4 separate regions of the Homo sapiens genome follow, and all the other regions are linked to region 2. Evidence: promoter capture Hi-C in human tissues and cell types (Jung and others, 2019). All regions are on one chromosome and are shown on one strand. Each heading gives the region's core, a stretch centred on a gene start or on the middle of the fragment in contact. The rest is flanking DNA. Distances are from core to core; before and after follow the strand shown. Region 1 overlaps ZNF133 (zinc finger protein 133). Region 2 holds the start of DZANK1 (double zinc ribbon and ankyrin repeat domains 1). Region 3 has its middle 29 kb from the start of ZNF133. Region 4 overlaps DTD1 (D-aminoacyl-tRNA deacylase 1).

Evidence for each region. The method cuts DNA at HindIII sites, captures the fragments that hold promoters and counts their contacts. A contact is called where the count stands out against the background at its distance.
Region 1: a fragment that was not itself captured here is called in contact with the fragment with the promoter of DZANK1 in region 2 in 1 of the 25 tissues and cell types used here (spleen).
Region 3: a contact is called between a fragment that was not itself captured here and the fragment with the promoter of DZANK1 in region 2, in 1 of the 25 tissues and cell types used here (spleen).
Region 4: a fragment that was not itself captured here is called in contact with the fragment with the promoter of DZANK1 in region 2 in 2 of the 25 tissues and cell types used here (lymphoblastoid cells and spleen).

What each region holds. Positions count from the first base shown.
Region 1 is chr20:18,313,652-18,320,025 of GRCh38, reverse strand. It overlaps ZNF133 (zinc finger protein 133), which reads right to left. Exons shown (of 7, transcript NM_001352452.2): 7 at 3,030-4,957. The coding sequence ends at 3,210. It overlaps ZNF133-AS1 (ZNF133 antisense RNA 1), which reads left to right. Exons shown (of 9, transcript NR_187570.1): 7 at 3,214-3,314; 8 at 4,027-4,196; 9 at 6,063-6,374. Among named protein-coding and RNA genes, the nearest start is that of ZNF133, 28 kb to the right of the region's middle. The HindIII fragment of the contact is 8,391 bases long and covers 1-6,374 here.
Region 2 is chr20:18,461,211-18,468,279 of GRCh38, reverse strand. It overlaps DZANK1 (double zinc ribbon and ankyrin repeat domains 1), which reads left to right and starts at 1,250. Exons shown (of 21, transcript NM_001367614.1): 1 at 1,250-1,284; 2 at 2,903-3,030. The coding sequence starts at 2,922. POLR3F (RNA polymerase III subunit F) reads right to left here and starts at 890. Exons shown (of 9, transcript NM_006466.4): 1 at 712-890. The coding sequence starts at 773. RefSeq lists enhancers at 810-1,129, 752-1,370. The HindIII fragment of the contact is 23,548 bases long and covers 1-7,069 here.
Region 3 is chr20:18,255,562-18,262,783 of GRCh38, reverse strand. It overlaps the pseudogene RN7SL14P. Among named protein-coding and RNA genes, the nearest start is that of ZNF133, 29 kb to the left of the region's middle. The HindIII fragment of the contact is 6,505 bases long and covers 1-5,810 here.
Region 4 is chr20:18,711,242-18,717,614 of GRCh38, reverse strand. The region is part of intron 4 of DTD1 (D-aminoacyl-tRNA deacylase 1); the gene reads right to left. Among named protein-coding and RNA genes, the nearest start is that of DTD1-AS1, 16 kb to the right of the region's middle. The HindIII fragment of the contact is 3,760 bases long and covers 2,201-5,960 here.

The sequences.
Region 1 (6,374 bases), core at 1,748-4,247, 150 kb after region 2:
AAAATTTGAGGCTTAAAACAACTACTATCATCATGCCTCAGTTCTATAGGTTGACTGAACTCAGCTGAATGGTTCTCACTTGAGGTCCCTCACTTGGTTGCAGATGTCACCTAGGGTTTCAGTCGTCTGAAAGGCCTGACAGGGCAGGCCTCCAAAATAGCTCTCCCATGTGACTGCAGTTGAGGCTCACTGTTGGCTAGCTCAGCTATGGCTGATTACCAGAGTACCTCTATGAGGCCTCTCCATGTGACTAGAAGTTTTCACAGCATGGCAGCAGGGTTCAAAGTGTAGAAGCTGCATGGCTTCTTATGAACTAGTCTCAGAAGTCCCATAATATCATTTCTGCTATACCCTCTTGATGAAGCAAGTCACTAAGACCAGCCCAGATACATGGGGAAGGTAACAGGTCACTCCCCTTCACCCCATCTCATAATAAAGATATAGGGAGGGACGAATTGATTACGTCCATCTTGGAGACGATTTTCACACATCCATTCCATGTGAAATATATACTCATCCCTCCTAAGATGCCTCCAAAGTCTTATCCCACTATGGCATTGGCTCAAAGATCGGGATCTCATTCTCTAAATCAGGTCAAGGTGTAGATGATGCTTTATCTGAAGACCTGGGAACCAAAGCAGCATATCTAACACCCAGTGTAGATTCAGGGATAACTATCCCTGAAAAAGTGCTTCTATCAAAAAATGGGGAAATAGCAGGTACTGGTTCATAGAAATTCAGCAGTTCAGCTGGGCACATGCCACCAGTTACCTTAGTAGCACCGTACTGCCCCTGAGAGTGATTCTCCATGATGTCTGCAGTCCAAGTTATTCCTCCTTTTCCATGAGAAATGGCCTGTGCTTGCAGCTTAGTAGGTTTCTCACCCTGCCTCCCTGCCCATAGAAAGAGGTAGGGGCTTTTCTGTCCTTTTCAGAGCAAGCTGGTGTTCCTGTTACAAACGTTAAGGGTATGCCTCTTATTGAAGCTCATTCCATTAGACAAAACCCATATCCACAAAGCTCTTCAGGACAAGCCTCTCATTTGGGTTGAGTGTCAAGGTGCTATGGGATGATTCCCTTAAAATTTAGAACCATTTTGTGTATAGTCAAGGAGCCACACACTTAAATATTTCTGAAGTCTTAAAAAGGGGTCTTACAGTTGCACCCTTGAGATGATCTTTACCTTGAAGGACACTTATTTTGAGCAAAACCAGACACTGAAGGAGGTATGGTTAATAATATTTATGTAGGGTTAAATACCTTAAGCCCTGAGATAGGATAACTATTGAGACTGTGTGGCTTAAAGACCTTAGATCAGTTACCTGATGACTGACATGGGGACTGGGTCCTGGGATAGAGGAGCATGATTCAAAGTCCTAAACACTGGTATTACAGGACTGATTGGGGAATGTGGCTTCAAGGGTTTAATCTCTGTTATTGGAGGGCTGAGGAAGACACATGGTTAAAGATTGTCATATACAGTCAAGTGTTGCTTAACAAGGATATGTTCTGAGAAATCATTAGGTAATTTAGTCATTTTGCAAACACTATAGAGTGTACTTACCAAACCTAGATGGCACAGCCTACTATACACCTGGGCTATATGGTATAGCCTATTGCTCCTAGGCTACAAACCTGTGTAGCAGGTTACACCGAGTACTGTAGGCACTGAGTACTGTGGGCAACTGTAACACAATGCTAAGTTATTTGTGCATCTAAACATGGAAAAAGTAAGGTAAAATACAGCATAAAAGACAAAAAAAATGGTACACCTGTAGAGGGCACTTACCATAAATGGTAAGTTGCAGAACTGGAAGCTGCTCTGGGTGAGTCTATGCATCTAAACATAGAAAAAATAAGGTAAAATACAACATAAAAGCCAAAAAAAAAATGGTACACCTGTATAGGACACTTACCATACATGGCAAGTTACAGAACTGGAAGTTGCTCTGGGCGAGGCGGTGAGTGGTGAGTGAGTGTGAAGGCCTGGGACATTACTATACACTACTACAGACATACATACTGTACCCTTAGGCTACACTCAATTTATTTTTAAATTTTTCTTTCTTCAATAATAAATTAGCCTTAGCTTACTGTAGCTTTTAACTTTATACGCTTTAAATTTTTTTACTTTTTGACTCACTTGTAACTTAGCTTAAAACAAAAACACACTGTACAGCTGTACGAAAATATTTTTTGTTTTATCCTTATCCTATACGCTTTTTCTATTTTAAAAATTTTAAATTTTTGTTGTTGTTGTTGTTAAAAACGAAGACACAAGCACACACATTAGCCTAGGTCTATACAGGGTCAGGATCCATATCACTGTCTTATCCACCTCTGTATCTTGTCCCACTGGGAGGTCTACAAAGTCACTAGGTAACGGGAATTTTTCAGCTCCACTATAATCTTACCAGCCCACCACTGTATATGCAGTCCGTCGCAGACGAACATTATGCAGTGCCTGACTGTAGTTATGGAGGTGCTGATGAGGTGGTATAGCTGGGGGTGGTTGGAGATTATCTATTTTCTTGGTGGTCTGATATGGGTGTAACTGAGATCCAAGGCTCTGCTTGGTCACAGCTGCAAGACCAGGCCGTGGGACTGGAGTGCTGGGGACAATGTATTGGTGAGAGGGCCCCCGATGGAAGGACCAGGGACTAAAAAAGCCTGAGAAACACAACAAAGGTAGTCAGGGGCAAAGGCAACAACGGAGATGTTTGAAAGCTGGGAGGAGAGAAGCAGGAAAGGGGCTGTCAGAGCCAAGGGATGGGGGTAGCTGCAGATGGAGCCGGACTAGAGGAAGCTACACTTTCTGGAAGATCCCCTCCCATCCCATGAAATCTCTTTATGTAGTTCCTAGATTCTCTCCCCATACAAAGGTCCAGTCTTTCTAATAAATCTGCAAATGATTTGGTTCTTGTTTTCCGAGGAAATGAATTCCTGTGGAATAGTGGACTTAAGGGTTTCAGATGTCTGTATCATTCCTTATCCCTGTTATAGATGAGTGAATGAGGGACACAGGCACAGTTACAGATGTATAAAGAAGCCAAGTTTATTACAACCGAAGGCCACAAAACATGGAGAAGACTTAGTGTGGAGAAAGTAAACAGTCAAATGTCCTTTGACCACTTACAGAATGCATTTCTCTACTCCATTTCATCAAAGTGTCAACATTCTGACTCTTAGTCCTTGTCCCCATCTTTGCCTTCAGAGAGAGTATAAGGAATCCGAAGGTTGCCCTGCACACGGCTCAGGGTCGGGCTGCACTGGCAGTCTGTGGTGGACAGACGTGGTCTTCCTGTGTCTGCTGAGGTGAGACTTGAGGCTGAAGCCCCGCCCACACGTCTTGCACACATATGGCTTCTCCCCCGTATGTGTCATTTGATGTAAGGTGAGGTGTGACTTTTGGAGAAAGCCTTGGCCACACTCTCTGCACACACAAGGCTTCTCTTCCGAGTGAGCCCGCTTGTGTGTAATTAGAGCTGACTTATTGCCAAAGCCCAGTCCACACTGCCTGCACATGTAGGGCTTCTCCCTCGAGTGCTTCCGCTTGTGCCTGATGAGACCGGCCTGGTGGCTAAAGCCTCGCCCGCACTCTCGGCACACATACGGCCTCTCCCCTGAGTGCGTCCTCTGGTGTGCAACAAGGTTTGACTTCTGGCTGAAGCCTCGCCCGCACTCCCCACACACCATGGGCTTCTCGCCTGAGTGCGTCCTCTGGTGTCTGATGAGGTTGGATTGCTGGCTGAAGCCCCGGCCACAGTCCTTGCACACAATGGGCTTCTCTCCTGAGTGTATGTTCTGGTGTCTGTTGAGGTGTGACTTGAGACTAAAGCCTCGCCCACACACCCCACAAACATACGGCTTCTCCCCAGTGTGTGTCCGCCTGTGAGAGATGAGGGTTGAATTCTGGCTGAAGCTGTGCCCACACACCCCGCACACATAGGGCTTCTCCTTTGAGTGTGTCCTCTGGTGGTTGACAAGGGTGGTCCTCTGCCTGAAGCATCGCCCACACTCCTTGCAGGCGTAGGGCTTCTCCCCAGAGTGCGTCCTCTGGTGGGAGATGAGGTTTGACCTGTCGCTGAAGCCCAGGCCACAGTCACTGCACACGATGGTCTTCTCCTCCAAGTGTGTCCTCTGGTGTCTCACGACAGCTGACTTCTGGCTGAAGCCTTTGCCACATTCCCGGCACACGTAAGGCTTTTCCCCTGAGTGTGTCCTCTGGTGTATGATGAGGTTTGACTTCTGGCTGAAGCCTCGCCCACACTCACTGCACATGTAAGGTTTCTCACCGGAGTGTGTCCGTTCGTGTATGATTAGCGTTGACTTCCGGTTAAAGCCTCGTCCACACTCCCTGCACACAATTGGCTTCTCCCCCGAGTGTGCCTTCTGGTGTCTGGCGAGGCTCTTCTTTAGGCTGAAGCCCTTCTCACATACCCCACACACGTAGGGCTTCTCCCCTGAGTGTATCCGCTGGTGACTGAGCAGGTTTGTCATCTTGCTGAAGCTCAGTCCACACTCTCCACAGTTGACTGTTCCAAATCCTAAGACTTCTATCCTCTTCAACAATTTGTCTGTTTCCTCAGGGTTCCCTGACTGAGCTGGGCTGGCTTCTAACTCCACCCCTCTGAGGCCGTTCCGAGAGCTGACTGGCTGCCTCTGGGGTGGCCTGGAGAACGCTCCCAGAGTCCTTTTCTTGGTTCTTCCAAACAAAGGCATGGCACCTTCTCCCTCAGGACCTTCTGCTTGATCACTCCAGGGTCTCCCCTCAGAGGCTTGTTGCTGCTTCTCCTGGTCCCCTGGGCCCGGATCCCCAGGCTGGATGTTACCTTCTGCACACAAGCATGTGAAGATCCAGGGGGGATGATTACACAGCACATGCTGCATGGGGAATTTCTGACTGGAGAAACCCGGAGGGCAGAAAGGATCGAGGTAGAGCTCTGGCTCTGGATCTGCTGCAGAGAGAAAAGTGTGAGTCACAACTGAGTCCTCAGTGGGCAGCCTGAGCAATCAGCTTAGTCAGATCCCCTAGGCTTCAAAACACTTAGGCCTTAAGTGCCATCCAACCGGGACTTCCTTTACATGGCCTACTCTCCAGCCTACTGCTACTTATTACGTCTAGCATTACAATCTAGAAAACCCACTTGTTAAGACCTGCTCTACATATAAGACTACACAAGCATCCCTGGCATTTTTGGGTGTGTAAATAGGGCCAGTATGGAACAGTTCCCCCTCACCTTCAATACAATTAATTACCTTCTAACTCACAACCATGCACACTGAGATAAATCATGTCCACAAGTACTTTCTTCTTTGATGGAAAGATGTCTAACCCTAGGACTCATGTGGAAATGTCCTTCCTTATTTCCCTATGAGGACAAGGGGATGGATTGAGAAAGCAGTTATTTAGAGTGAACAGAGAAGCCCTGGTGTAGGGAGGAGCATGAGAGGGTAGTGAAACAGTATGTGACACACCCGAGCTGCTGTCTCCCCACTCAACAAAGATTTGTTAGATTACTCTATGCCAGAATTTCTAGGAGGCAGTAGGCTTTCAGCAGTGGACAACACAGAGCCCAGGTCCCCAATGACTTTAAAGGATGCTCCCTCCTGGTACCCCCAACCTATTTCCATAATTAGTGTAAATAAAATTTTCCCCAAAAATCAGTGTAAAAGAAGAAATTTCTACTTATAGTGCCTCTTGTGTAGGAGATGTCAACATTGAGTATATTGTTTTATCACAACTGGGTCTAGTCAGCTGAAGGCAATCAATGACCAGGCAATATGAGTAACGAGGTAGAGATCTCGATGGATCTACCCGAATGCTCTTTTCTTGACCAATGAAAAATCAAGCTTATTAAAAGTGTACACATCCACATTCCAGAATTATTCCATGCTACGCGAAATGCTACTTTTCAATCCTAATTACAATGAGCAGAACCACCTTTTCTTACCACTTAAAAATTCCTGACTCTTCCTACTCAGCAAACTGCCCAAGTGAATGTCTTCCCTTCTGTGTTTCACTGCCTGGCCAGTAAATAAGCTCAACTTTTCTCCTTTCAGTAGCTCTGGTGGCCTTTACCTCAGGCTTTGATGACAGACAGAGGAACCAACAATCTAACCTGATGCCTGCCTCTCCCCACGCCAGTGCTGAGGAGCTCCTGCAGAGAAAGCCTGCTCTTCCAGCCCTTGTATTCAGGACAGGTGCCGGGTGGTCCCTCAAGACCCTTTTTCAGCAGTAAATCCTACCTGCTTTCACTGAGTTCTCACTAAGTTTATTTGGTTTAATCTAGGTTGTCTGAGGTTCCACAACTCATAACTGATTTTGTGTTCTATTTCTGGCCAGCAACTTCCTTGACATTATGGAAACTTGAG
Region 2 (7,069 bases), core at 1-2,500:
CATGGTGAAACCCCGTCTCTACTAAAACATAAAAAATTAGCTGGGCGTGGTGGCGCGAGCCTGTAGTCCCAGCTACTCGGGAGGCTAAGGCAGGGGAATCGCTTGAACCCGGGAGGCGGAGATTGCAGTGAACCGAGATCGCGCCACTGCACTCCAGCCTGGCGACAGAGCGAGACTCTGTCTCACAAACAAACAAATAAAAATAAAAGTGGCAGAGGCTTTGGGTGTCCTAAAAGTCTTGAGTTCAATACTGCACTGAAACCACCTGGCTTAATGTTACTTCGTAATCACCAACTGCGCCCTAACTCCGCCTAAACGTTTTGTCATAGACGTTCCCTTAGTGACAAGAGCGATCCTGGATCAGAACATGTATTCACAAGTGTTCTACAGGGAAAGAAAGCCGAGGGCTCCTCTCAAAGCACTGATCGCGTCAAAGTAGGAAGGCAGCACGTCATCACAACTTCCCCAAAAGTATCAGGGCAAAGCCAGCCAGCTACACAAAGTTGCAAGCTGTCAAACCCATTTTGAACTTCTTGAGTTCTGCTCTCCCAGGATGGGAAGGAACAAGTGGGTCCAGAACCCCGCAATCGTTTTTCCCGCGTGCTCACCTAACCCGCTCCGGCCACTCCCAAGGGATCCCGGAGAAGGGGTCCAGCTGCCCAAATGACTGGGCGCCTGATGGAGTGCCAAGCCGGAGCCTCACTGGTTTACCTGTTTTCTATTTCGACCGGATCCGCGTCAGGCGGCTGCACCTTCACCTTCACCTCCGCCATGAGGGCGCAGTTCCTGACGCCTGGGGGGAAAGATGCACGGAGCAGCCCGGTAGCAAGCCGGGGAACCCGGGGAACCAGTGGAGGATAGCGCTCTGCTGAGGCCGAGGGGCCTTCTTCCTCGTGTCGCAGCCGGTCCTTCCTTGCCTTTCGGCGGGAGGTGGCCAAGCTGCGCCTGCTCCGGCCCACTTACAGGCGCCGCTACAGCTTCTTATTCTTGTTTTCCAGAATGTCAATGCCCATCGGACGCACAAGCCTGGTTCCTTCATTCTGAGTTGGGAAACCAACTTTTAGCACTTGGCAACTCTGTGAAGGAATATTCTTAGATGCCTATGGGAAAGCACTGGGAAAGGAACTCCAGGCGGGTACCAGGCTCCCTGCGGAGCGGCAGGGGCCGGTCTAGTTGCTAAGAAGCTGAGTCTCCACCAATCATCTGCCCAGCACCCAGTGGGCGGGGCGCGGCTCGCCGCGTCTGTGGTAACCCGGGCGGCGGCGAAGGAGGAGGCAAGAGGCGGTGAGAGGCTGGCGACTGGGTTGGGCGCGGCAGAGATGCATTAGGGGTCCCGATCCCGGGCCCCGCGGTTAGAGGAAGAGGAGGGCGGCTAGAGGAGGGGAAGAGCTTCCCTTACTCCAGCCGAAAGGATGCAGGTGTCCTTGGCAGCCCCTGATGGGCGGGAACAACCAAACGGGATTCCGGATCCGGGCTGCGAGGGGGCGGTCCACGTTGGGAGAGTTGAGGGGTCTGGGGATCCTGTTGACTGCACGTTGCCATTTGGGCCTGGCGGATCCGCCTTTTTTCTTGATTCCCTTTGCGTGGGGCCCACTGGCCACCCCAGCTTCCTAAGGGCAGCTGCTAGTTGACGCTCGCGAATTACTTCCTCTCCTACATATTTTTTATTTAGAATTTTTCAACTACTTTTATTTTATCTGCCTTTCACTTAAATGGAAATGCGACTATGGGCAAGTCTCAAGTCCAGCCACACTCCCGTAGGAGCTATTGTTGTGCTGTCAGTATCTGTAGTTTATATTCTTGGCCCTAGATCCGGAACTATCCAACAAGGCATTAAGTTCACCCCTTAAATTTAGGTACCCCATTTTTGAGAATACAGTCTGTGACAAAGCTCAAACTGCAGACATGTTCAGATCAGCATTATTAGAACTGCAACAGGCAAAACTAAAAAGAAACTAGAAATAGCCTAAATGCCCAGCCACAAATGGATAAATAAGTACAGGGAAAACTAAATAATACAGTGAGAATGCAAGAAGTAGACTATAAAAATGGAATGAATATGTAGATTATAATTGGGCAAAATCTATGGATTATTAATGAAATTTGAAAAGGCAATACAGAGATGTAAATGGTTGTTGTGTTAAGGTGAGCGTTTTTTCCCCCTGAAACCTTCTGTGCATTAATTATGACAACCTTCCTCCCCACCCTCACCTCCAAAAAGACCAGTAAGGCTTTCATACTGGTAGTTAATTATTAATACCAGGATTTATAAATACAGTAGATGAAACGGGAGGCTTGTGTTTATTGGTCACTGTTTATATTCTTGCAAACTTCCTTTCCACTGAGAAGTAGTACTCTGCAGTCCTTCTAAAGTGTCTTTGCAGCTTTCAAATACTAGAACTGCTCTGGTGATAATGGCAAGGCTGTGAACCCGGAGCTTTCCCAAAAAAGTTAGCTCTAACTAACATTTTGTGGTACACACAGAATTACTTCTGTTCCCCTTGTATGATGACTTGCCCTGAAGCCAAGAGAGCTGACACACACCAGAGGCAGGAAAAGGCGATAATGATTTACAGGGAACTCAAGTCAGAGCGTTAGTGATAGTCTCTGTTTTGCCTTACTCATTTAATTTGTCCTTTTAAAGTAACTTCTTTCTTTTCCCCATCTCATTCATTCATGCTCCTTTCGCAGAAGTGAGGTATTTAGATAATCAAAACCCCACACAAGACCTCAACAGCAAATACAGATGAAATGTAATTATTATTTCAATTAAAAAGGGAATAATATTTGTAGTGCCATGTTAACAGTATTCTCTCGTTTTAACTAGTTTTGCTGCATTTAAATTAAGTGCTGCTCTTCAGCTTTTGTGTACATTGGAATTTATATGTATATATATATAGAGAGAGAGAGAGAGAGAGAAAATGACTGCTGGTTCAGTGTGTGTCCCTCAGATCATACCATTACGAGTGCCTCAGCCTGGAAAAGCTAACCATGAAATTGATAACAATACGCTTTTGGAAATGAAATCAGGTAAGAATCACATATGTTTGAAATTGTTTAAAATAACATTGTCATATTTCTTGTGTTATCTGGTTGCTGGTTTATCTCTTTGCCTGCTTTCTCACTCTTTGCTCAGCTTTTTGGGAAATTTGTAAAACTTCTAAAATTTGAAACAGTGCTGTACATTGATGGTTTATAGAGTGGTATACATTTAGATTAAAATGGTTAGCTTTGACCAACCTTTCATTTGTATAGTTTCAGCAATGTCTTGACTTACCTTAGCCAAGGTAAGATGTCCCGGTGCTGGCCGGGTGCGGTGGTTCACACCAGTAATCCCAGAACTTTGGCAGGCCGAGGCAGGTGGATCACTTGAGGTCAGGAGTTCAAGACCAGCCTGGCCAACATGGCAAAACTCTGTCTTACTAAAAATACAAAAATTAGCCAGACATGGTGGTGGGCACCTGTAATCCTAGCAACTCAGGAGGTTGAGGCAGGAGAATTGCTTGAACCTGGGTGATGGAGGTTGCAGTGAGCCGAGATCGCGCCAGTGCACTCCAGCCTAGGCAACAGAGCAAGACTCCGTCTCAAAAAAAAAAAAAAAAAAAAAAAAAAGTCCCGGTGCTCCCCAAACTTTTCCAATATGCTCATTATTTAGCTGGTATAATAAATTTGACCTACTGATACAGGCTTTCCAGTCAGACAGGTTGGAGACTTAATCCCTGCCTTGACAACTTCTAGTGACCTTGGGTACATTACTTAGCCTTTTTGAGTCTGTTACCTCACTGTAAGACAGGAATAATAATATCTACTTCTTAGAGCCATTGTGAGGATAAATAGGTTCGTGTATGTATGAGGTGCACAGGGTTTGGCATATAGTAATGTGAAAATAAATCTCAACTCTAACTACAGAAATAAAGCAGTGAGGGCCAGGCCTGGTGGCTCACGCCTGTAATCCCAGCACTTTGGGAGGCTGAGGCAGGTGGATCACCTGAGGTCAGGAGCTTGAGACCAGCCTCCTGTCTCTACTAAAAATACAAGATTAGCCAGGCATGGTGGCCAATGCCTGTAATCCCAGCTACTCGGGAGGCTGAGGCAGGAGAATTGCTTGAAGCCAGGAGGCGGAGGTTGCAGTGAGCCGAGATGGCGCCACTGTACTCCAGCCTGGGAGACAGAACAAGACTCCATCTCAAAAAAAAAAAAGAAAAAGAAAAAAGAAATAAAGCAGTGAATGTATATCCTGCTAATACGTATTCTTCAAAATCTTAAATATGTGTGTATATCTACACATACACATATATATACATACACATATATAATTAACATAAGGAAGGAAAGTTTCACAGGTAAAACATATGAACAAATAGATGTGTAAAAAAGACTTTGAAATTCCAATTTTTGCCTTTTTTTAACCAATTATATATTTTAATAACTGAAATGTGTACAAACTATCTGCATTTATGTTATGACCCCTGTGCTGCTTAGACCAAGAGTTCTAACTAAGCATATGTATTATTATCTGTGTTCTCCTTTAGCTTAAAAGCTGATACAATTTTTTAAACTGTCAAACCAAATTAAACATTTTAATGTATGTGCCCATAATTCTTAGGAGAAGTTGGGTGACTATTGACAAAAGATGATATGAATGGTAGGGTATCAAAATTCCCTAATATGTAAATATCAAATAAATAAATAGTTTTCACAATTCAGTAACAAAAAGAACAGTAACCCAGAAGAAAAATGGGCAAAGGATATGAAAAGACCTTTTTTTTGTTTTTTCTTTTACAACTTTTATTTTAGGCTTGGGGGTACATGTGCAGGTTTCCTACCTGGGTATATTGTGTGGTGCTGAGGTTTGGGGTATGATTGAGGCCATAACCCAGGTAGCAAGCATTGCTGTAGGTTTTCAGCCCTCCCCACCCTCTGGTAGTCCCCAGTGTCTATTGTTCCCATCTTTATGTCCATTTGTACCTAATGTTTAGCTCCCATTTATAAGTGAGAACACGTGGTATTTCGTTTTCTGTTCCTGTGTTAATTCGCTTAGGATTATGACCTCCAACTATATCCATTTGCTGCAGAGGACATGATTTCATTCTTTTTTATCACTGCATAGTATTCCATGGTGTGTATGTACCACATTTTCTTTGTCCATTTCACCATTGGTGGGCACCTAGGTTGGTTTCATGTCTTTGCTATTATGAATAGTGCTGTAAGGAACATATGGGTACATGTGTCCTTTTGGTAGAACAATTTATTTTCCTTTGGGTACATACCCAGTAATGGGATTGCTAGCTTGAATGGTATTTCAACTCTTATTTCTTTCTTTTTTTTTTTTTTTTTTTTTTAAGACCGAGTCTTACTTTGTCACCCAGGCTGGAGTGCAGTGATGCAATCTTGGGTCACTGCAACCTCCGCCTCCTGGGTTCAGGTGATTTTCATGCCTCAGTCTTCGGAGTAGCTGGGATTACAGTTGTGTGCCACCATGCCCAGCTAATTTTTGTATTTTTAATCTGCCTGCCTGGGCCTCCCAAAGTGCTGGGATTACAGATGTGAACCACCGCGCCCGGCCTCAACTCTTATTTCTTTGAGAAATTTCCAAGCTGCTTTCCACAGTGGCTGAATTAACTTACATCCCTGCCAATAGTGTATAAGTGTCCCTTTTCTCTGCAACATCTGTTAGTTTTTGACTTTTTAACAAAGGCCATTCTGACTGGTGTGAGATGGTGTCTCACTGTGGTTTTGATTTGCATCTCTTTGATGATTAGTGATGATGAGCATTTTTTCATGTGTGTGTTGGCCACTTGTATATCTTCTTTTGAGAAATAATGAAAAGACATTTTGTAGGAAAGGAAATATAAAGGTCTCTTAAACATATGAAAATATTTCTTCTCCTTACGCTTCTCTCTGCCCCTTCGTCTGCTTGCTGAGCAGAACTTATCCCTGCTTCACCTCCAAGCACTTAATCACCACCTGACAAACTACATTTCCTTGGTTGTTTACTGTTTCAGTGTCCTTCCTAAAACATAATCTCCATGAGAGCAGGGACCATTCTAGGTACAGGGGATATGCAAGGAGCCCCTAAGATATACTTTTGCATATCCCCTATACCTAGAATGATGTCTGGTACATAATAGGTATTCAGCAAACATTCATTGTAATGAATTAGTGAGTTTTACTCAAAATGCAAGAAAGATGAATTGAAACTACAAGATAGTATTTTTTTTAACCTAGGAAATTAGGAAAACTAAAAGAAAAATGGATAACACACTAGATGAGGAAGATTGTGGTCAAATAGGTGTTTTCATGCATTGCTGGTGGCAGTGTAAATTGCTTAACCATCCATGGAGGGCAGTTTGGAAATATTAATCAAGATTACAAATGCTGGCAGGGCATGGTGGCTCACACCTGTAATCCCAGCACTTTGGGAGGCTGAGGTGGGCAGATCACCTGAGGTCAGGAGTTCGAGACCACCTTGGCCAACATGGCAAAACCCCGTCTCTACTAAAAATACAAAAATTAGCTGGGCGTGGTGGTGGGTGCTTGTAATCCTAGCTACTCAAGAGGTTCAGGCAGGAGAATCGCTTGAACTCGGGAGGCAGAGGTTGCAGTGAGCTAAGATCGCACCACTGCACTCCAGTCAGGATGACAGGAGTGAAACTCCGTCTCAAAAAAAAAAAAAAAAGATTACAAATGCATGTATCTTTTGACTCAGCAGTAACTAGTTCTACATATTTGTCTTGCCCATATATTTACAGAAATAATTCTTTACAAAATTATTTATTATAGTGCTTATAATTGCAAAAGAAACAAAGAAAAGGAAAAAAGAAGACAGCCTAAAGATCCATGTGTAGGGAATTGGTTAAATTATTGTTCATCTATATAAGAGAATGTGGTGCAGCTATAACAAATAATGAGGAAGCTCTTTTTTTAAAAAAATTTAAATTTATTTCCTAGGGAGCTCTTTATGTACCAATATAAGACATACTGATAAATGAAAAAAGAAATATGTGGAACAGGGTACAGTATGCCATCATTTGTGTCAAAAGAGAGGGAGAAATAAGAATATGTACAT
Region 3 (7,222 bases), core at 1,309-3,808, 210 kb after region 2:
CAATTTTGTTGACTTTTCAAATAACCAACTTTTTATGTTTCATTGATTTTTCTATTGTTTTTATTTTCTGTTTTATTGATTTTGGCTCTGGCACAGTCTCGGCTCACTGCAACCTCCGCCTCCAGGGCTCAAGTGATTCTCCTGCCTCAGCCACCCAAGGAGCTGGGACTACAGGCGTGTACCACCATGCCCAGCTAATTTTTGTATTTTTAGTAGAGACGGGGTTTCACCATGTTGGCCAGGATGGTCTTGATCTCTTGAGCTCATGATCTGCCTGCCACGGCCTCCCAAAGTGCTGGAATTACAGGCGTGAGCCACTGTGCCCAGCTGCTCTGATCTTTACTAGTTTCTCTTTCCATTTAGTGTGGGTTCGATTTGTTCTTCTTTTTCTGGGTTCCTGAAGTGGAAGCATAGGTAATTGATTTGAGACCTTTTTCTTTTAAAATATAGGTGTTTAGTGCTATAAGCATTCCTCTAAGTATTATTTTAGAGGCATTCCATTTGTTTTGACATGTTGTGTTTTAATTTTCATTCAGTTTCAATATTTTTCTAATTTCCGTGATTTCTTCTTTGATCTATGGGTTATTTAGAAGTGTGTCATTTAATTTCCAAACCTTTGGATATTTCCAAGATTTCCCTATGTTATTGATTTCTACTACATTGTGATTGGAAGAAGTAAGTTTACTAAAACTATCCAATTTAAAATAATGTAAATAAATTGAACTGGTGTTCCCTAAATTTTTTTTTAACTTTTATTTTAGGTTTGGGGGTACATGTGAAGGTCACGTAGGTAAACACGTGTCATGGCGGCTTGTTGTACATATTATTTCATCACCCAGGTATTAAGCCCAGTACCCAATAGTTATCTTTTCTGCTCCTCTCCCTCCTCCCACCCTCCCCCATCAAGTAGACCCGTGTCTGTTGTTTCCTCCTTTGTGTTCAAAAGTTCTTATCGTTTGGCTCCCATCCTAAAGTTTAATGTGCACATAAACACCTGGGCATCTTGTTAAAATGCAGGTGTTGATTCAGCAAGTCTGAGATGAAGCCCGAGAATCTGCATTTCTTTTTTTTTTTTTTTTTTTTTTTTTTTGAGACGGAGTTTCGCTCTTGTTGCCGGGGCTGGAGTGCAATGGCGCAATCTCGGCTCATCTCACAAGCTCTCACTGCTGCTGGTCCTGGGGCCATGCTGAGTAGCAAGATTTAAAGATGATGATAATTTTCAAAATACATAGTATTTAATTTCTTAACTCCATTTGTCTTGTGATCATTTCCAATTTATTATTTTTAGTAATTATTACTACACATAAGAGTGTCTATTATTGGCCGGGTGCAGTGGCTCATGCCTGTAATCCCAGCACTTTGCGAGGCCGAGGCGGGCGGATCACCTGAGGTTGGGAGTTCGAGATCAGCCTGACCAACATGAAGAAACCCTGTCTCTACTAAAAATGCAAAAAAAAATAGCCGGGCATGGTGGTACATGCCTGTAATTCCAGCTACTCGGGAGGCTGAGGCAGGAGAATCGCTTGAACCCGGGAGGTGGAGGTTGCGGTGAGCCGAGATCGTGCCATTGCACTCCAGCCTGGGCAACAAGAGCGAAACTCTGTCTTAAAAAAAAAAAAAAGTGTCTATTATTATAGTGCATTATAGTGCTGAGAGATATTTTTTACACTTTATCCCACTCATTTTTCACAACTGTTAAGTAGGGAAGGCATGCATTGGCCAGGTGCGGTGGCTCACACCTGTAATCCCAGCACTTTGGAAGGCCGAGGCGGGTGGATCAAGAGATCAGGAGCTTGAGACCAGCCTGGCCAATATGGTGAAAACCCATGTCTACTAAAAATACAAAAATCTGCCGGGCGTGGTGGCGGGCACATGTAATCCTAGCTACTCCAGAGACTGAGGCAGGAGAATTGCTTGAACCCAGGAGGCGGAGGTTGCAGTGAGCCGAGATCGCCCACTGTACTCCAGCCTGGGCAACAGAGCAAGACTGCATCTCCGAAGGAAAAAAAAAAAAAAAGCATGCATTTATTTTATTACCTTTCCAGGGTGAGGAAACTGAGCCTCGGAGAGGTTGAGACTGGCTTGACGTATTTCACATTTCATCATTAGACCATGCTCCTTCCTTTTAATGATATTATATATTTGCGAAGCTGACTTTCCAGTGTTTGCTGTGACAAAAAAAAAAGTACCATTGAAGGTCCGTGGTGGTGCAGGCAGTGAAGGTGTCAGTTCCAACCAGACTCCGGATTTGAGAAGTTGTGGAGTGCCCAGTAGGCACGTTCATATTTAACTTATTTAAGGATGTTTATTTTAGGGGGAAGTAAATTTTTTAGGAGTTATGTGTATTTTTTCAGTGGCTACTAAATACTTATGTTGTATGAACCTAATAATGGAAGTTTGGGGTATTCTTGTTGGCCTAGGAGGTGCTGTGAAAAATTACTGAGATGCTCAGGGTGCAATGAGCTGAGAAAGTTTGGGGAATTCTACTATAAATAAATAATCCCACCATATATATGGATCCATATATATGTCACATGTAGATATCTTTATTTTTGCATGTAAATATATTTATTATATTACACATCTTTAGCCAGGTTTCACTTTGGAGTTCATAATTTTCTCTGTTTGCTCACATACATTACTCTATGAATTAATGAGTTGTCTTGGAATTGAAGCATGTTAGGGGAGGGGTATGTGTCTTTTCTAGGTTTTGCAAGTACTTGCTGTAGAGTCTCATATTTTTGTGGGTGTTGTCCTCAGGGATATGGTGCCTTTTGCTAATTACACTGATGCGGAAACAGAAGAAGAAATTGCTAAAAGCCACAGGGGAGCAGGCAGCTGAACCAAGGAGCACATGAAAAGCAGGTTTCTCCAGACTCTGCCACACCCTTTGGGAAACTTATTAGGGGGAAAAAAATCCTCTAAGTCTTTTTTTTTTTTTTGAGTCAGAGTCTTGCTCTGTTGCCCAGGCTGCTGGAGTGCAGTGGCGCAATTTTGGCTCACTGCAACCTCCACCTCCTGGGTTCAAGCAATTCTCCTGCCTTAGCCTCCCGAGTAGCTGGGATTACAGGTGTGCACCACCATGCCTGGCTAATTTTTTTGGTATTTTTAGTAGAGACAGGGTTTCACCATGTTGGCCAGGCTGGTCTCGAACTCCTGACCTTGTGATCCGCCTGCCTTGGCCTTCCAAAGTGCTGGGATTACAGGTGTGAGCCACCATGCCAGGCCAAAAGTCCTCTAAGTCCTTGTAAAGCTTGATTTATGGCTTACTTTGGGGCAGGGAGATGAAACAAAATTTGTCATGAGAATTTAAGATGTCAACCTAACTAATTTATCAGGGCTTTCAGCTGCAACAGAAGGGATAACAACTAGCCCTTCAAATGCTTGATAATGTGCCTAAGTTCAAATCAAGATGGAATCTTCTTGGATATCAATTTTTTCAACTTGAAGCTTCCCTATACTTATAAATCTTGATTGTTTTGTCTGAACATGAACAAGACTTTTGAGCATTGATTTAGTATAATGTGTGAATAAAACTAGGTAATGAAAGCTAGCGATTTTTTTTAGTTTTATTTTATCTATACTTGACACATAATTCTACATATTTATGGGGTACAGTATGATGTTTTAATACATGGTACATTGTATAATAATCATATTAGCATAATTAGCACAATTAGCACATTTATCACTTTAAGCATTTATTATTTCTTTGTAGTGTTAACATTCAAAATCCTCTCTTCTAGCTATCTTGAAATATATAATACATTATTATTATTAATAGTTATAGTCACTCTATTGTATAATAGAACACCAGAACTTATTCTTCTTAACTGTAACTTTGTACTGGTTGACCAACCCTCCCCTCCCCAGGATCTGGTAACCACTATTCTCTCTGCTTCTATGATCAACTTTCTTAGATTCCACATGTTGCTGGGTGCAGTGGCACATGCCTGTGGTCCCAGCTTCTTGGGAGCCTGAGGCAGGAGGATCGCTTGAGGCTGGGAGTTCTGGGCTGTAGTGTGCAATGCTGATTGGGTGTCTGCACTAAGTTCGGCATCAATACGGTGACCTCCTGGGAACAGGGGACTACCAGGTTGCCTAAGGAGGGGTGAACCAGTGCAGGTTGGAAACGGAGCAGGTCAAAACTCCCTTGCTGTTTGGAGTGGGATTGGGCCTGTGACTAGCCACTGTACTCAAGCCTGGGCAACATAGCAAGACCCCATCTCTAAAAAAGGAAATTTTAAATTTTTTGTATAAACTAATATTTTTAATAAAATAAATTTTTTAAAAAGGAAAAAATTTAATTAAAAAGCTAAAAAATAGATTCTACATGTGAATGAGATTACTCAGTATTTGCCTGAAAGCTAATGATTTTAAAAGTCCAGAAAAATGGTGCCTGCTGTTCTCACGATGGCGTTTTCTGCCAGGGCGTGAGCTAACATCTGGCAGACAGTGCCCTCTAGAGCTGTTCCGAGAATGATAACGTAAATACAGATCCCCGAGCTCTGCCCCTCTCAAACTGAATCAAAAGCGCGGGGCATGCAGCTCAGGTTTAAGTATTTTAAAAGGGCCCCCAGATGTTTTAATGCACATCCAAGATTGAGAACCACTGACATAAAGCCCTTTGGTGTTTAATACATTGAGTTTCTCATATTTCTAAATTTTCTCTTGAAATCACACTTCAGAGGACCTTGATAACCGGCCTTGACTTTTTAAAGTTTTTAATTTAGATTATTGGTTAATACACACTTGAGTCAACAGGTTGAAGGTTAATTCTACCCCCAGGAAAAAAGTAAAACTTTTTTGGTTCAAGAAGCCCAGCTCTTATCTTACAGGAGAACATGGAGAGAAATGGCATCAGCCTATTCAGAACTCTTCTGCCCACCTAGCCGGAATCAGCAATTTAGCATGCAGTCATAGCCATAGTTCACGTCTACGAATCGGTCAGCACCTGGGGGGCTATATCTTTGTCTTAGGTCTCCATGTTGCCCTCTGCAAACCTCTGTATTGCACTTGGTGAGCAGAGTGCAGAGCGGACCCTACAGCCCTCACCCCCATGACTGGCGCCTTTGGGAAGTGCCCACCCTGCCCAACCTTACCCTGCAGTTCTCCTAGGCCCAATAAAATCTCAATTAATATTCATGCATGCACTAGTGTATTCAACACATATTTGCTGTCTTTTGAAGAAGTGGGGCCAACCCAATTATATTTTCTGCATTATAAACACCTTCCAAGGCTCACCTTCTCTCTCTACCCCTCCATTTCTGGTCCTAGTTGAGGTCCTATCGTCTCTTACCTGGGCACCTGCAGTGACTCCCTAATCAGACTTGCTCCTTTTAGTCTCATCCCCTTCAAACCCAGCCCACACACTGGCCAGAACCATCTATTTAAAACTCAGATCTGGAGAGTGGGGAGGGATAGCATTAGGAGATATACCTAATGTAAATGACGAGTTAATGGGTGCAGCACACCAACATGGCACATGTATACATATGTAACAAACCTGCACGTTGTGCACATGTACCCTAGAACTTAAAGTAAAATAAACAAATAAATAAATAAAATAAAATAAAACAACAACTCAGATCTGGCCAGGGGGCTAACCCCTGCTCGACACCCCCCAGGGGCTCCCGCCACTATGATCTGCAATGGCTGGTTAAAAGGGACTAAAACTTTCCGGGGCTGGTCTCTGACCACTTCCTTAGCAGCCATCCTGTTGCTCCCAACCTCAGGGGATCCTTGAGCAATGCTGATTGATGGCTTTGCACACAGACCCCTTACAGGGATTGTTTTAATCACCTGCTATTCATCCTGCTGGTGAGAAAGGGATTCCTGTTCCAGGGTTATGGGGATGGCCAAACACAGGACACCTCACACTGGACAGATGAGATGACGGCAGTTTATAACTCACATTCTGGATCAGAACACAGCATAGCACGCAGGGCCACAGGGGCTACACTTGGGAACAGAGTGAATAGCCAGGGTCTGGAGTCAGGCTTTGTGCTATCAAAAGGGTAGGGTGATTCCTGATTCCTGCAGCAGAATATGATGGGCTTGTTTGAATAATTTCTCAGGCTGACAGGGAACTGACTGACACCCACTGCTCAGAGATAAGCAGGAACTGCACCGTGTTTGGCTAGGGGATCTTATCCAAGAGAGCAGAAGGGAGGGGAATTTGTGGTTAGAGCATTCTAGGCTCTCTCAGTTTGACCAGATGTCAAAGCAGCACTTAATATTGAACGAAATTCTAGGCCTTACATCACAGGCAAACAGGTGAGCTCCACCTCTGTGGGCTCCTCCATCTCCCCACTCCCACTTACTCTGGCTAACTCCTGGTCAGCCTTATTTTTCAACTCTGATCTCCTCTCCAGCAGGCCACTTCCCTGGCCTCTCCTATCTAGCTGAGTTGCTTACCTATCCTAGGTACTCTTAGTGCCTTTTTTTTCTTCTTTTTTTTGAGACGGAGTCTCACTCTGTCTCCCAGGCTAGAGTGTAGTGGCACTATCTCGGCTGCAAACTCCGTCTCTTGGGTTCAAGTGATTCTCCTGCCTCAGCCTCCTGAGTAGCTGGGATTACAGGTGTGTGCCACCACACCCAGCTAATTTTTGTATTTTTAGTAGAGACAGGGTTTCACCATGTTGGCTAAGCAGATCTTGAACTCCTGACCTCAGGTGATCCAACTGCCTCAGCCTCCCAAAGTGCTGGGATTACAGGCATGAGCCACTGTGCCCAGCAGGGTACTCTTGTTGCACCCTCTTGTCCATGCCATAGTCTAATAAAAATGTAGAGATGAGTCTCTAAATTTAACGTTTTATTTGGGATACAAGAATTGCAATTTGGGGCGTACACATAGACTAGGTACTCTTTGGTGTGTCTGAAGAACAAAGAGAAAGTTGGGGGTTTTATTTTTAAAAAGAAATGTTGCCTGTGGTCTTGAAAGAAAGTTCATGGGTATTAGTAAAGTTGTGGGGAGCTGGAAAGCTCCAGTTGGTGAGCCACAGGCCTGGGTAAAATTAGTCTTTGAGCTGTAGCAGCTATTGGGTAAAGCTGGTCCAAGGCTGGTCTTGTTTCAGCAGCTATTGGGTAAAGCTGGTCTTAGGTTACCACAGGCAGCTTTAGCTGCTGGACTTGGAGAGAATTAAATTTTTGGAGCAATGCTATATGCCGCAAGTGCTTTTCCCTTCTGGCTTCTCAACTCTGTTTTTGTTGGGTATGACAA
Region 4 (6,373 bases), core at 2,831-5,330, 250 kb before region 2:
TATGCTGGAAAATGTTTTGAAGATATGAGACAATTTGAAAATTTGCAAACTGTGTAGCCTAAAAACATGGAAAAATTGAGAAAAAGTTAGGTATGTCACGAATTTACTATGTATAAACTATACATAGATACTAGTCTATTTTTGTCACTTACTGCCATAACATATACATAAATCTATTATAAAAAGCTAAAATTTACCAAAAACTTATACACAGACTGTACATGGCACCATTTGCAGTCAAGAAAAATGTAAACACATGTAAAGATGCAGTATTAAATCATAGTAGCTGCATCAAACTAACTGTGGTACATACTGTACCACTGTAATCATTTTGTAGCCACTTCCTGTTACTACTATGGTGAACTCACCTGTTGCAAGAATCCACTTAAAACACCATGTGATGCTAATTATCTCCCGTGAGCAGTCATCTCTCCAGTAAATTGCAGATTGCAGTAAAAAGTGATCTCTCCTGGTTCTTGTGTATTTTTCACTGTGTTTAATGCAATAACTTGAACCTTGAATAACACTGTGAGACCCAAACAAAGTGCCACTAATGACACTGGAGGTGCTCCCAAGAAGCAGAGTAAAGTTACAACATTCCAAGGAAAAGCTGAATTGCTTGACTGCTTGATGTGTACCTCAGATTGAGGCCTGCAGCTGCCGTCCCCCACCATTTCATGATAAATGAATCCAGCATAAGAACCATTGTAAAAAAAAAAGAAAATTCATGAAGCCATTGTTGCAGCTGTGCAAGAAAACATGAAAACCTTACCCTTTTTGCAAAATACAAAATATGTGTTAATTGACTATTGATGTTACCAGTAAGGCTTCTCTGATCAACAGTAGGCTAGCAGCAGGTAAGTTTTTGAGAAGTCAAAAGTTTTACTTGGATTTTCCACTTAGTGGGGAGTTGGCACCCCTGACCTCCACATTGTTCGAGTCAAGTGTACTCTTTTACCTAAATTGAAATTTACAACACCACAGGCTGGCCTATCTTACTATTTTTAAAAGACTGTGACATCTCCCTTCTAAAAACCTTTCAAGATAAACAAGAAAGAAAAAATAAAGCCCTAAGTGCCTCCGTCAGTTTAGATTTACTCCTTCTGTGAGTTAGCAAGCAGACCCTGGACAAGTCCATGGGCCTCCCGTGAGACCCGGCAGCCACCTGCGGGTGGCATGTGTCTCCTGGTGAGAGTTGGACCCCAGTGAGGAGGGGCCGGTGTGACATGATGCTGCTTCCCCAACCAGTCAGACCCCACGTGCCACAAACCTGAATCCAGACACACTGTGGAGCTTGAGTTCCTTCCTCAGTCTTAAAACATTATTTCCCCTTTCTGGGAAGTGGGGAAATGTTACAGCCTTTTCAAGGAGAGAATCCAAATGCTTCTGGGATATCAAAGGTTCAGATCCTGAACCAATATTTGGAGGAAGTGTGTGAAACAAACCACATGGGTTACATTTGCTGCAAAACACACATGGCTCTAAAATAGATGAAGAAGGTACCATTGAAACATGCTGGGTGCTGGTGAATCCAAATGCCTGAAAAGCAGTTTGAAGCTTCTAGCAAACCAAGAGCACAGCAGGATTGGTCTTTCCTTAGCACAAACTCAACAGTACAGTAAGGGGGTCCAACCTCAAATCACTCAATTTGTGTTTCAAACATGACATAAACTAAGCCCAAACAAGAGTCAGTGCCAACAACAGACTCCAGATACAACCAGAATATCTGCATGCTGGAGACTCAGCACCCGACTCCTCCCGAGATAAAGCAGCGCAGGACATGAACCTGTTGTTTGCCCAGAATGTGAAGCCTATGAATGACAACCTGACACATGAGCCTTTAGAGTTTATGGGAAATGTTTCCATGTGAGTCCAAATAATTTGTCACTAGGGATGCAAGTAAAACCAGCATTGCCAACTTTTGGTTAGTCACCATTTTATAGATTACATCCACAGAAAATCCCAGAGTTTCATTTTAAACAATGGTTTCCATCTCTTACCCCACCAGAATAGAAATAGTAATTATATGCTTTACTTTGTGACTTGGTTTAATTTAGCCTCCTCTTCTGATGTTTCTCAGTCGATGGCCATCCCACCCCAAATGCACCCGGTCTCGTCTGATGCTTCTCTGACCGTGAATGCTGTAGCCCAGTACACGGCCAGACACCACTTAGCAACCACTGCAGGACAGGGAGCTTACAGGGAGCCTTCAAAGGGCCACAATCCAAAGATGAAGCAGATATGCAGAAGAGTTCCCCAACTGCTAGGGTGGGTGGGGAGGCTGACTCAGCCTGGAGCACACCATCAACAACAGGGGTCCCAGTCAAGGGAGTGATCTGGGGGAGCAGGCACCCTTCCATAATGTCCCTGGAGTACAAGTTTAGGGACAGGGCTTGCTGTGTTCTGACCCTGGGGGAAATGGAGTGGGGGAGGGGACAGTGTATGACAGTAGTTGGTCACTACTTAGGACTCAGGGATGACACCCACTCGGGGTGGACCAATGGCAGATGCAGCAAAGGCAGAGCCCCAGCTGGCCCAGCCTGGTGTCCAAAGTCAGGGTTGGTCCTCAGGCTGTCACTGAGATACAAGCAGGGACAAGGCCTGCACAGCCTAGAATCTAGGAAAGGCCTGTGCACTGGAACCAGAGACTTCTTAAAAGCCCTGGACAATAGACATTCGTTCATATCACCAATGTCATATCACCAAACACAGGCGTTTGGCTGAAGGGGCAGGAGTGTCGGCACCCAGTTTCTCCTTGGGGTACTGAAGGTATCACCTATTGAAAGAAATCTTCTAGTTGAAATAGGAAATTAGTTTTGCCCTGAGGAGAAATTTTTTAAAGCTTCTCCAGGACTTGGATGATTCATCAAAACTAATCTTCTTACCTGCTCCTCATCTGAGAAAGACACCAAGAGAAGAGGCCTCAGTGCTCCTAAAGGACAGCTTCACTGTGTCCCACTTAGACGATGGCCTTGACCCTGGTTCCAAGCAGCACTGCAGGAGACAGTGTCTGTCAATTCCACCACCCCGGATCTGTGCTTCTTCAGAAGCCTACGTGCACAGGAGCCACAGAAATGAACAAAGGAAAAAACTACTTATCCTAACTAGTCTCCTCTACCTGTGAAGAGTAGAGTCAATGAAAAGTCCTAAAACTAGCTCCAAGGAGAAGGAAACTTGAAGAAAAAGAGAATTATCCCCATAGCAAGAAATCATCAGCACAGAATGTGGGGATTTATGTTAATAAAAACAGCTTGAACCCAAGCATGAGAACAAGAAGCCTGATGAAACAGTACCCCAGATCAGAGGAAATAAACAAACACACAAGTGGTTGGGAATGGGAAAACAAAAAAGGTTATTTGGTCCAAAAATACATATCTAGTACAGCCTTCTTGTTTCACAGGTTAGAAAACCAGGTCCTAAGAGGTTAAATGACTTGGCAAAATAATTTGCTCTGTGTTTACCTAATAGACTCCCCTTTCTCATCCTGCCTTTCCTTTGACTCTAACAATGATGAGGAAGGGTGGGTAGGCCTCACAGTCACCCCCATCTGACAGATGGTGAGCTAAAGCGTGCAGACCTTTGGGCCTTCCAGGTCACATCTCCAGGAGACGGTGGAGTGCAGGCTGGAGGTCAGGGCTCCTCAGGTCAGACCAGGCTCTGGATGAGAACCCAGACCGTGCTGGGCTCTGGGCAGCTCACCTGCGTGAAGGCAACAGAACATCCAAGAAGGACCACTCTATCCACAACCACGCTATGTCACAACAGGAGAGCAAAATGAGGGTATAACCTGCCCTTGAGGAGAGAACATCAAGAGCTGCCGAAGACACTGAATGGTCTTCAGTGCAGCCTTCAAGAATGGGGATAACTATATGAGCAGAGAGAAACCTTAGTCTAGAGAAAGTGCATGAACGAAGAACCAAGGTAAGTAAAAGAATGTCCAGGGAAGACCAATGCAGAAAAAAACAGCCTAAGGCTTGACAAAGGAGGAACGGAGGATACGGTCAGAAGATGAAGGTGGGGACGTGAACCCAGGCTAAGGATCCTCCAAATCCTTTTCTGTGCACCAGGGACCTGCTCCAGTCTCTGGACCAAAAACACTGAGCAGCTCAACCAATGCAGACACCCACAGCCACTACCATCCTGTCAGGTCCCTTCCAGGGTGGAATATTTCTAAAGGAAGCAGGAAGCAGGGCTTGCTCATCCAATCAAACTGGAGAATCAAGCACTCAAGCATGCATAGAAACCCTGGGAAGATTTTAACAAGAGGACATTTCTGAAGGAGCAAAAAGGTTTGGGGAAGAAAACAGCAACCTAAAAATAAGCCTTTTAAAGTCATTAGGTGCACACCTATAAAGTCAGACACTACATGAAACAGCTCCTGAAATGCCAGGAGGACACACACTAGACAGAAAGAACAATTGGCAGAGGAGCACAAAAAAAGGCATCTTTCAAAGAGTGACCTCTGCAAAAGATGCCCGGAGGGCCAGCCTCGGCAGGAGGCCATGGGAGGGGGAGCAGAGGCTATGGTGAGCCCCGGGAACAGCTCTCCAGCAGCCCCTTCTGGCCAAGGCCAAAGGAAGAAGGAAGGCTGGGAAAGTGGAAACCCAGGACAGGGGAGGGAAAGAGAACAGGTTAAAATGGTAATCCCATTACAGAGAGATCTGGTGACAGTCAAACCATGAGAGCCTTGCCAGATGCCTCTGATGAAACTGGTACCTTATGTGGCAAGGTAAGGAGGGGAGTCTGTACACGAAAGGATTTGGGGGAGCTGAAGGAAGAAAACATTCCGGTGTCCACACAGCTACTGGTAAAATGGGTTCTGCGTGAGCCACGTAAGGTCATGATTGTTCTATGCTTAGAGCAAGCCACAGTAGAGAAGTATCCGGTAAGCTTGTGGATCCCAAATATGTGCATTTGGGGGTTTTATTTCCACTGGGGACCTTTGCAGACACAGTGGGCCCACTGCTACTTTATTGAAAAGCCTGTGGGAGGGAATTACCTTAATTTATGGCATGTGTCTCCATTGTTAAGATTTCGTTTTCATATGGGATCTCGGGTCGAGGTCCATGCTGACTTATGATCCAATGATTCCATTGTAAATGAATAGCCAGCTAAAACACAAGTGAGAGAGACCACTGCGGGAGCAAGGACAGTCTTGCTGACATCTGATCATGGGATTAGAGTCACTACTTCATCCTGGCTTCCCCCCCACCCCCACCCCCACAACACACACACAGTACTTATGAAAATGATATCATATGTGTCCTGTGGTCACAAAGGAAAGAATTTCAAAACACAATTGCTAATGTTTATGAGCTTATTCTTGTGCTAATCCCTGTGGAGAGCACAAAAAATTACAAACAAGAACCCCTGGCTCAAGAAGTTTGGAAAGTGAAGACTTAATCACTGTAAAACAAAGATGAAACACTGGTAACAGTATGCCACTGAACACTAGAGTCCCTAAGTACTCTAAGGAAAAACCCATGCAGAATGGAGTTGATGAAGAAATATTTGTGGAAGAAGTTAGATTTTTTTTTTTTTTTGAGACGGAGTCTCCCTCTGTCACCCAGGCTGGAGTGCAGTGGTGCCACCTTGGCTCACTGCAACCACTTCCACCTCCCAGGTTCAAGCAATTCTCCTGCTTCAGCCTCCCATGTAGCTGGGATTACAGGCACGTGCCCCCCGACCCCCGGCAACCCCCACCCCGGCCTCCTGGCTAATTTTTATATTTTTAGTAGAGACAGGGTTTCACTATGTTGGCCAGCCTGGTCTCAAACTCCTGACCCCAAGTGATCCTCCTGCTCACCTCCCAGAGTGTTGGGATTACAGGCATGAGCCACTGTGTCTGGCCTGAGCTGATTCTTAAATAAGGTTTCTACCTAAATAAGCACAATGAAGCAGGAAGGACTTCAAGGCAACCCAGATACCGCCCTTGACCTAGAAAGAGGACTCAGAGTAAGAACAGCTCACGAGAAAAAAACCTACACCAGATCATGATTTTTTAAAAACACTGTCCTGACACTTCTGCTTCTGTCCCAGATGGGCCAACAGGAACCAAATTTATCCTCACACCATCACATTGAAGTTTAAAAAAAAAAAGGACAAGCCTAAGAAACAACAGTTGTTAAGACACAGGACCTCAGGCAACAAAGGCCAGGAAACAACAAGCCAGGTAAGCCCCATGGGAGCTCCATCTGACCACCTAGGGAGAGTTCACAGGTCACAGTATGAGAGGGAAACCAAGGCAGAGGCTGGAGGACTTCCTGAGTAAAGGAGATGGGGTTGAGAGTCCCGGAGGCCACTCAGCTAAAGCACTCAGGACACAGTACTGGAGAGGAGACAGCTGCACAGAGGGAGAACAGTGGAGTTGTGC